Linked DNA regions of Homo sapiens: region 1 is linked to region 2. The links are contacts of gene promoters, found by promoter capture Hi-C in blood cells and fetal thymus (Javierre and others, 2016). All regions are on one chromosome and are shown on one strand. Each heading gives the region's core, a stretch centred on a gene start or on the middle of the fragment in contact. The rest is flanking DNA. Distances are from core to core; before and after follow the strand shown. Region 1 overlaps DGKD (diacylglycerol kinase delta). Region 2 holds the start of UGT1A4 (UDP glucuronosyltransferase family 1 member A4).

Evidence for each region. The method cuts DNA at HindIII sites, captures the fragments that hold promoters and counts their contacts. A CHiCAGO score of 5 or more calls a contact.
Region 1: a contact is called between a fragment that was not itself captured here and the fragment with the promoter of UGT1A4 in region 2, in 1 of 17 cell types (endothelial precursors). The highest score is 5.7, in endothelial precursors.

Annotation. Positions count from the first base shown.
Region 1 is chr2:233,462,994-233,466,489 of GRCh38, forward strand. DGKD (diacylglycerol kinase delta) reads left to right here. Exons shown (of 30, transcript NM_152879.3): 27 at 1,171-1,290. Among named protein-coding and RNA genes, the nearest start is that of USP40, 100 kb to the right of the region's middle. The HindIII fragment of the contact is 4,289 bases long and covers 1-3,474 here.
Region 2 is chr2:233,717,156-233,720,860 of GRCh38, forward strand. It overlaps UGT1A4 (UDP glucuronosyltransferase family 1 member A4), which reads left to right and starts at 1,581. Exons shown (of 5, transcript NM_007120.3): 1 at 1,581-2,532. The coding sequence starts at 1,666. The region is part of intron 1 of UGT1A8 (UDP glucuronosyltransferase family 1 member A8); the gene reads left to right. All of the region lies in intron 1 of UGT1A10 (UDP glucuronosyltransferase family 1 member A10), which reads left to right. The region is part of intron 1 of UGT1A9 (UDP glucuronosyltransferase family 1 member A9); the gene reads left to right. It also overlaps UGT1A7, UGT1A6, UGT1A5 and UGT1A. The HindIII fragment of the contact is 5,069 bases long and covers 1-3,705 here.

The DNA.
Region 1 (3,496 bases), core at 80-2,579, 250 kb before region 2:
CTTAGAAGCCTGTAGTGCAGAGTCCTGCTCCTGCCGAGAGCTGGCCACACTCTCAGGCACCTTCCATGCTCAGCCCTGCAAAACCGGCTGATATGGCAGCTGTGGGGCTGTTACTGAATCACAGGGGCTAGAACAGGGAGAGGCCTGAGAGACTGACTGGCCAGCCTTCTGGTTTTAAAGATGAGGAGGAAGGGGCTTGATAAAGATTGGGCAACTGGAGAACCGCCCCAGGTGTGGTTTCCCAGCCCTCCACTCCGCACGCCACTCACCTCCTCACTGCACGCGTCTCCTCACTGCACGCATCACCTCACTCCACACATCACCTCACTCCACACATCTCCTCACTGCACGCATCTCACTCCACACATCACCTCACTCCACACATCTCCTCACTCCACACATCTCCTCACTCCACGCATCTCCTCACTCCACGCATCTCCTCACTCCACGCATCTCCTCACTCCACGCATGTCCTCACTGCACGCATGTCCTCACTGCACGCATGTCCTCACTGCACGCATGTCCTCACTCCACGCATCTCCTCACTCCACGCATCTCCTCACTCCACGCATCTCCTCACTCCACGCATCTCCTCACTCCACGCATCTCCTCACTCCACGCATCTCCTCACTCCACGCATCTCCTCACTCCACGCATGTCCTCACTGCACGCATCTCCTCACTCCACGCATCACCTCACTCCACGCATCACCTCACTCCACAGAAATCCTCACTCTACGCATCTCCTTATCCCATGCCTCCCCTCGTCCCACGTCCCGTGGTCACACGCGTGTCCTCACTGCACACCTCCTGCTGCCTCCTGCAAGGTTCGACTGCTGACTTTGCTTCCCACAGCATTTCCACTGCTTGACACAGGTGAATGGCTCCGACCCCATTTCTGACAGAGGGACACAAGCAGGTCAGTTGTCAGCCTTGCTCTATGTGAATTCATCGTTGACTGATGGACAGTTTTATTCTCTCACCAGCACTACTTAGAAAGTGAGGTTCTGGGTTTGGTTCCTTTTCTGGTGCTCTGGGACTTCGTTTCTGGAAAGTGAGCTCCCTGATCAGAGCAGAGCAGAGCCCTGGAGCGGACCTCACCCCCCTGGGCCTCGCGCTGATCAGCAGTGCACACTCTCCATTTCTCTCTCCCTCCCTCCGCCTGGAGCAGCAGCTGGATCCGCCTCAGAAGGAGCAGCTGGGGAGTGCTCTTGCCGAGATGGACCGACAGCTCAGGAGGCTGGCAGACACCCCGTGGCTCTGCCAGTCCGCAGAGCCCGGCGACGAAGAGGTATGTGGCTCATAGGGCTGTGCCTGGGTCTCCCGGACATGGTGGCTCTCGCCTGAAGTGCCTGTGTTCCTTGTGACCCGTGTGGCTCTGGGATCAAGATCGTGTCGCTCCGGCAGCCCCTGAGGGGCCTTCTCCAGACTTCGCTATTAAAATGCTCTTTAAGGCAGGGAGGGACAGCAGGTAGGAAGGAGTTCTGGGCTGGGATTAAGAGTGCCCCTTGAGGACCAGGGACCTGTTGTCCTCTGAAACAGAACTGCAGGGCTTCCTGGACAGTGGGTAGAAGGAAGGCTGAGCCCAGCCCCACAGCCTCCCCCGAGGGTGGAGATGTATCATGGGATAAATGGCAGCCTTTTGGGATCCCGCTGTGGACAGGGCGCAGTTGGTGTGCGCCACTCCCCACTCACACTCTCTTCCTGTGTGAACAGAAAGACTCCAGCTCGTCGCAGGTCTGGGAGGGACCCGAGGACGCAGGGCATAGCGGACCCTGGGGTGGAGTCACATTCTTCTGCAGGGAGTGCTGGCTGAAGGAGCCCTGGAGAGGGCCGTGTCTGGACAAGGACAAACCCCAGCCTGTCTCTTGGCTTCCCTGCTTCAGAGATAGAACACAGAGGGGCCCTGAGGAAAGCTCATCTTGGGCAGTACAGTTGCAGAAGGCAAATAACTGCAAGACGCCAAACCTGGGCACCCCTGCCCAGTGGGGTTTGTGAGACCTGTGGGCAGCAGTAAGGCGAGGGGACAGAGGTGGGCAGCTGCACAACAGCACCCTCTTTCCGGGGCCCTGGGGCGTTTTTTGACGCATGCAATCCTTTCATGGGAAACTGACTCAGGCACTCCAGCCGATGGATGAAACTCAGCAGCTTCTCAGTGAGGGCACTTGGGTATAAAAGGACAGGGCAAGCTCCTCAAAATCCATTAAATAATTCATTGTAAAGGTGATTAAGAAATTTTACCCAAAATTACAAAAATAATAATATACAATGATTCAACAGATGTCACAGTGACATAGCCCTATAATACCAGATTAAATTAAGGCCAGTAAAGTGGGCAGTGAGGTGAGAGGCTGGGAAGAGGACATGGACGGGGGGAGGAAAGCATGTTAAATTCCTCCTCTTACAGTGGAAGAACGTTACAAACAACATTCTTGACTTTCATACTTGGAGAAATACAGAGTCAATAATGTTTTTAGGGTCAAGAGTGGTGGCTCGCACCTGTAATCCCAGCACTTTGGAAGGCCAAGGTGGGAGGATCACGTTAGCCGAGGAGTTCAAGACCAGGCTCGGCAACATAGTGAGACCCTGTCTCTATTAAAAAAAAATTTTTTTTTAAACTTAAAGGTAATTTCTAATAGAGCTGAAAAGATTTATATCTTCCAAATTGCCACCAAGGACAAAAATAAAATACAATTTATATTGTAAAAGAAAGTAAAGGACCAGCAAGGGTATCGCTAACAGCATGAAAATAAGATAACAGAAAAATGACATGGCTTTCTCTTAAAAGTAAATTCTTAGGTTGTGTTTTAAAAGAAACCTAACCATATATTGCTCACAAGAGCCCTGTTTTTTTTTCTCATACTCCTAATAAAAATTTATGATACAGAAAGATTAATAATAATTAAAACACCATAAAAAATCCAAAGTAACAATATAAAAATAAAATTGCATATGTAAGACAATAAATGATAAAAAGAGGATCACTTTACATTGGTAAAATACAATAATTGTTATGTATAGTCATCAACTTATGACAGTTATAATAGTCACGAAACTGTGCCAAATAATAAGCATCTAAATTAGCTGTTCAAGACTATGTTTTTTATTCCCTAACTTCATTTTACTGTGCTCCAAGCAATGGTCTGTATGTTACTAGTCCTTTGAAATGTACTGAGGTGAGACTTGCCCAATAGGTGGTTTTTGTAAATGTATCTTGTATGCAGTTGTGTTTACATCATTAAGTTCCTACTGAAATTTTTTTTGTCTTCTTGATAGATCAGTTAACTCTAATACCATAATTGTAGATGTCTCAGTTTATCTTTGTGGTTATGTGTATTTTTGCTTCATGTATTTTGAGGCTATGTTATTGGGTACCCATAGGTTTTATCATTATATAATGATCCTTTTATCTTTAGTAATTCTTTTTATCTTCAAGTCTACTTGCTTGCTATATTTTTTCATAGTTTTACTTTCAAGCTTTATTTGGAGTGTCTCTT
Region 2 (3,705 bases), core at 331-2,830:
GAGCCCCTTGAATGTGGCAAGAGCACCCTCCCAGGCATGTTCCACCCTCACCCCGGGCTCATCAGGAGGGTTCTTAAGATGCAGACAGTTTTAAGGGGGTTGGAGGAATAGTTGAGAAGCTGAGATGTTGCACCCACAGCTGAGAATCCCTTTCTAGCACTCTGTGTCCTCACAAATCCCCAGAAATCGTCCTCCCCTGGGGAGTTCTCAAGCCCTTACAGACCTGCCCTCTCTGTGCCATCCTGCATATGCCTCCCTTGAGCTGGGTGTCCCTCTGATGGACGCATCCATTCACTGCCTGTCCCATGGGTTGTGTCCAAAGGTGGAATCTGTTATCAATGTGGATTTCTAATGGGAGTAACTTCCTCCATAAGGGAAGCCTCAGCCTCACCAGCAATGGCAGACATGGCCAGGCATGTAGACACAGAGGTAGTGAGATGGAAAGTGGGCACAGCCCAGAGAGCCTGCCCACCTCATCCTGGGGCGACCAGGACAAGGAAGCATCAGCAATCTTGCGAGCACATGTAGGAGTGACTTTCTGGAGCAGGACGAGCCTCATGGGCATGAGACCATTGTGAGTGCTCAGGGTCTCCCCCTAGAAAGGCACACATTTAATTCTCCATTTTGAAATTTGAAGTAGTGCCCCCACAAATTATGCAGCCCGTTCTGTTCTGGAGGAACCATTCTTATCAGAACTTGGTGCTGGATTGACTTGGAGAAAAGCCTGGCCATAATCTTCAGGATGAAATAAAGGCCTGGATGAATGGATACTTCAGTCTCTATGCAGACTTGCAGAAGACTGGAGCCTTTGGCATTCAGAAGAGGAATTCAGACTGTGCAAGATCTGAGGCCAGGCTCCAGCTCCCCAGGTCCTTTGGTGAGCAGGAGCTCCCTGAACCCACCGTGGGTCCTTGCTAGGGTTGTCTTGCCCATGTGTGCTTTAGACAGCAGCACCTCTTATTCCATGGTGTAGATGGAGAATCCTCAATAAAGCCTTCCCAAGAATATGATCATCACATCTTGAGCTCAGCCTCCCCGGAGCTTTTTTTTATATTGACAGCCACTTCAGAGAGAGTCCTCTTTGAGCTTTACAAGAAATATCCTGGTGTGAAAAAAGACCAAAACCAGATAGCCAGCCTGAACACTCTCTGTTTAGAGAAAGCTGGCTTAGCAATGTTGTATGTCTTTTGGATGTGCTGTGTTATTCACATATGAGAAGAAAGAGTTTCAAGGGTTAGCAAATAGCGTCACATTCAGCAGAGAACATGTGGTTGGGGACTAGGGCAATGGTGACTCCTCAGACCTCAGCTGCAGCCTGATAAATATGGTTAACAGAGTAGAAGGCAGTGACATGAAATGGGTGTCCACAGCCTTGTGTTGGGAATTGAATGAGAAAGAAGAGCTTGAACTTGGATGTTCCCCAGAGGCAGCACAGGGTCAGATGAGCTTTTCAAGATAGGCGTGATTGGTCTTTCCCAGGGTTGGGCCCATAACGAAAGGCAGTTATAGATTAATGGGTAATAAGTAACTGGAGGAGGGCACTTTGTCTTCCAATTACATGCTGATTTGCTAGGTGGCTCAATGACAAGGTAATTAAGGCGAAGGAAACAAATGTAGCAGGCACAGCGTGGGGTGGACAGTCAGCTGTCGGTGGCTTCTGCTGAGATGGCCAGAGGACTCCAGGTTCCCCTGCCGCGGCTGGCCACAGGACTGCTGCTCCTCCTCAGTGTCCAGCCCTGGGCTGAGAGTGGAAAGGTGTTGGTGGTGCCCACTGATGGCAGCCCCTGGCTCAGCATGCGGGAGGCCTTGCGGGAGCTCCATGCCAGAGGCCACCAGGCGGTGGTCCTCACCCCAGAGGTGAATATGCACATCAAAGAAGAGAAATTTTTCACCCTGACAGCCTATGCTGTTCCATGGACCCAGAAGGAATTTGATCGCGTTACGCTGGGCTACACTCAAGGGTTCTTTGAAACAGAACATCTTCTGAAGAGATATTCTAGAAGTATGGCAATTATGAACAATGTATCTTTGGCCCTTCATAGGTGTTGTGTGGAGCTACTGCATAATGAGGCCCTGATCAGGCACCTGAATGCTACTTCCTTTGATGTGGTTTTAACAGACCCCGTTAACCTCTGTGGGGCGGTGCTGGCTAAGTACCTGTCGATTCCTGCTGTGTTTTTTTGGAGGTACATTCCATGTGACTTAGACTTTAAGGGCACACAGTGTCCAAATCCTTCCTCCTATATTCCTAAGTTACTAACGACCAATTCAGACCACATGACATTCCTGCAAAGGGTCAAGAACATGCTCTACCCTCTGGCCCTGTCCTACATTTGCCATACTTTTTCTGCCCCTTATGCAAGTCTTGCCTCTGAGCTTTTTCAGAGAGAGGTGTCAGTGGTGGATCTTGTCAGCTATGCATCCGTGTGGCTGTTCCGAGGGGACTTTGTGATGGACTACCCCAGGCCGATCATGCCCAACATGGTCTTCATTGGGGGCATCAACTGTGCCAACGGGAAGCCACTATCTCAGGTCTGTATTGGTGCCTTCATCCAATCAATGTTCCAGGCAAAACACTTTTTAAAAAATGTATTTACTTACAAGTGCTTCCATATCTACTTATCTTTCCAAAGATTTTATTTTGGCTTCTTTATAACAGATAAACTGTTGAGGGGCCTAGTGTATTTCAAGTTTTCAGTGGTCACTGAGAGGAAGAAGAGGCACGGATGAGGGTCTGTCAGAGGATGGACAAGGACTGCTGTGACTCACGGACAGTGTTTGTAAAGGCACCATCTTCATGGTTGTGCATGTCCTTCAGCTCGGCAGGATCAGGGACACTACATTCAGAACTGATCCATCCTGGGGTTTTTGCTTGCCTGATTTTCAGCTGAACGGTGATGCAACAGTAAATTAGAATTGTGGACATGATAATTTTTAGTGGTCCCATCTTGCGAAAGATACAGAGGTGACCACAGGAGACCTAGGCACTCACAGGAAGTAGAAGTGTCAAAGAGGTTGACTCAGTTGAGTGGAAGTGGGGCTGTGAAGGTGGGATGGATGCATGTGATCAGAGAATGAAACATGGAGTTCAGTTTCCAGAGAGGGATCTGTCCTGAGAAAAGTTTTTCTGACCAGGAGTTGGGGGTCTGGTGTATGATGTGGGGACATCGTAGAGTTTGGAAGGTATGGTGATGGTTGCATGTCAAAAGGGTCTTCTACTTGGAATGCTGAAATTATCAAGAGTGGGTGGAAGGGACTAGGGAGGAGATAAGACCGTGAATCTATAAGCCCAGTGAAGCTGGGACCAGTGATGAATGGACATGTGTCCAAGAAGGGAAGTGTTTCTCAGGTGAAGCTGATCATATCACCAAACTCACCCTATCCCACTCCAAGTTTCTATAGTGGGATCTATTCTTTTTCCAAAAATTTCAGAGGTGACTTTCATTAATACAGAATATTTGGGTTTCATTGAAATAGTACTCTGGGATGTGAAAAACCAAATTCACACACCAATGAATTTGGTTTCTAAATCCATTAAGGGAGCCATCCTTTTTTTTTTTTTTTTCTTGAGACTGAGCCTCGTTCTGTCGCCCAGGCTGGAGGGCAGTGGCCGGATCTCCGCTCACTGCAACCTTCACCTCCCGGGTTTAAGAAATTCTCCCACCTCAGTCTCCTGAGTAACTGGGACTGCAGGCATGTGCCACT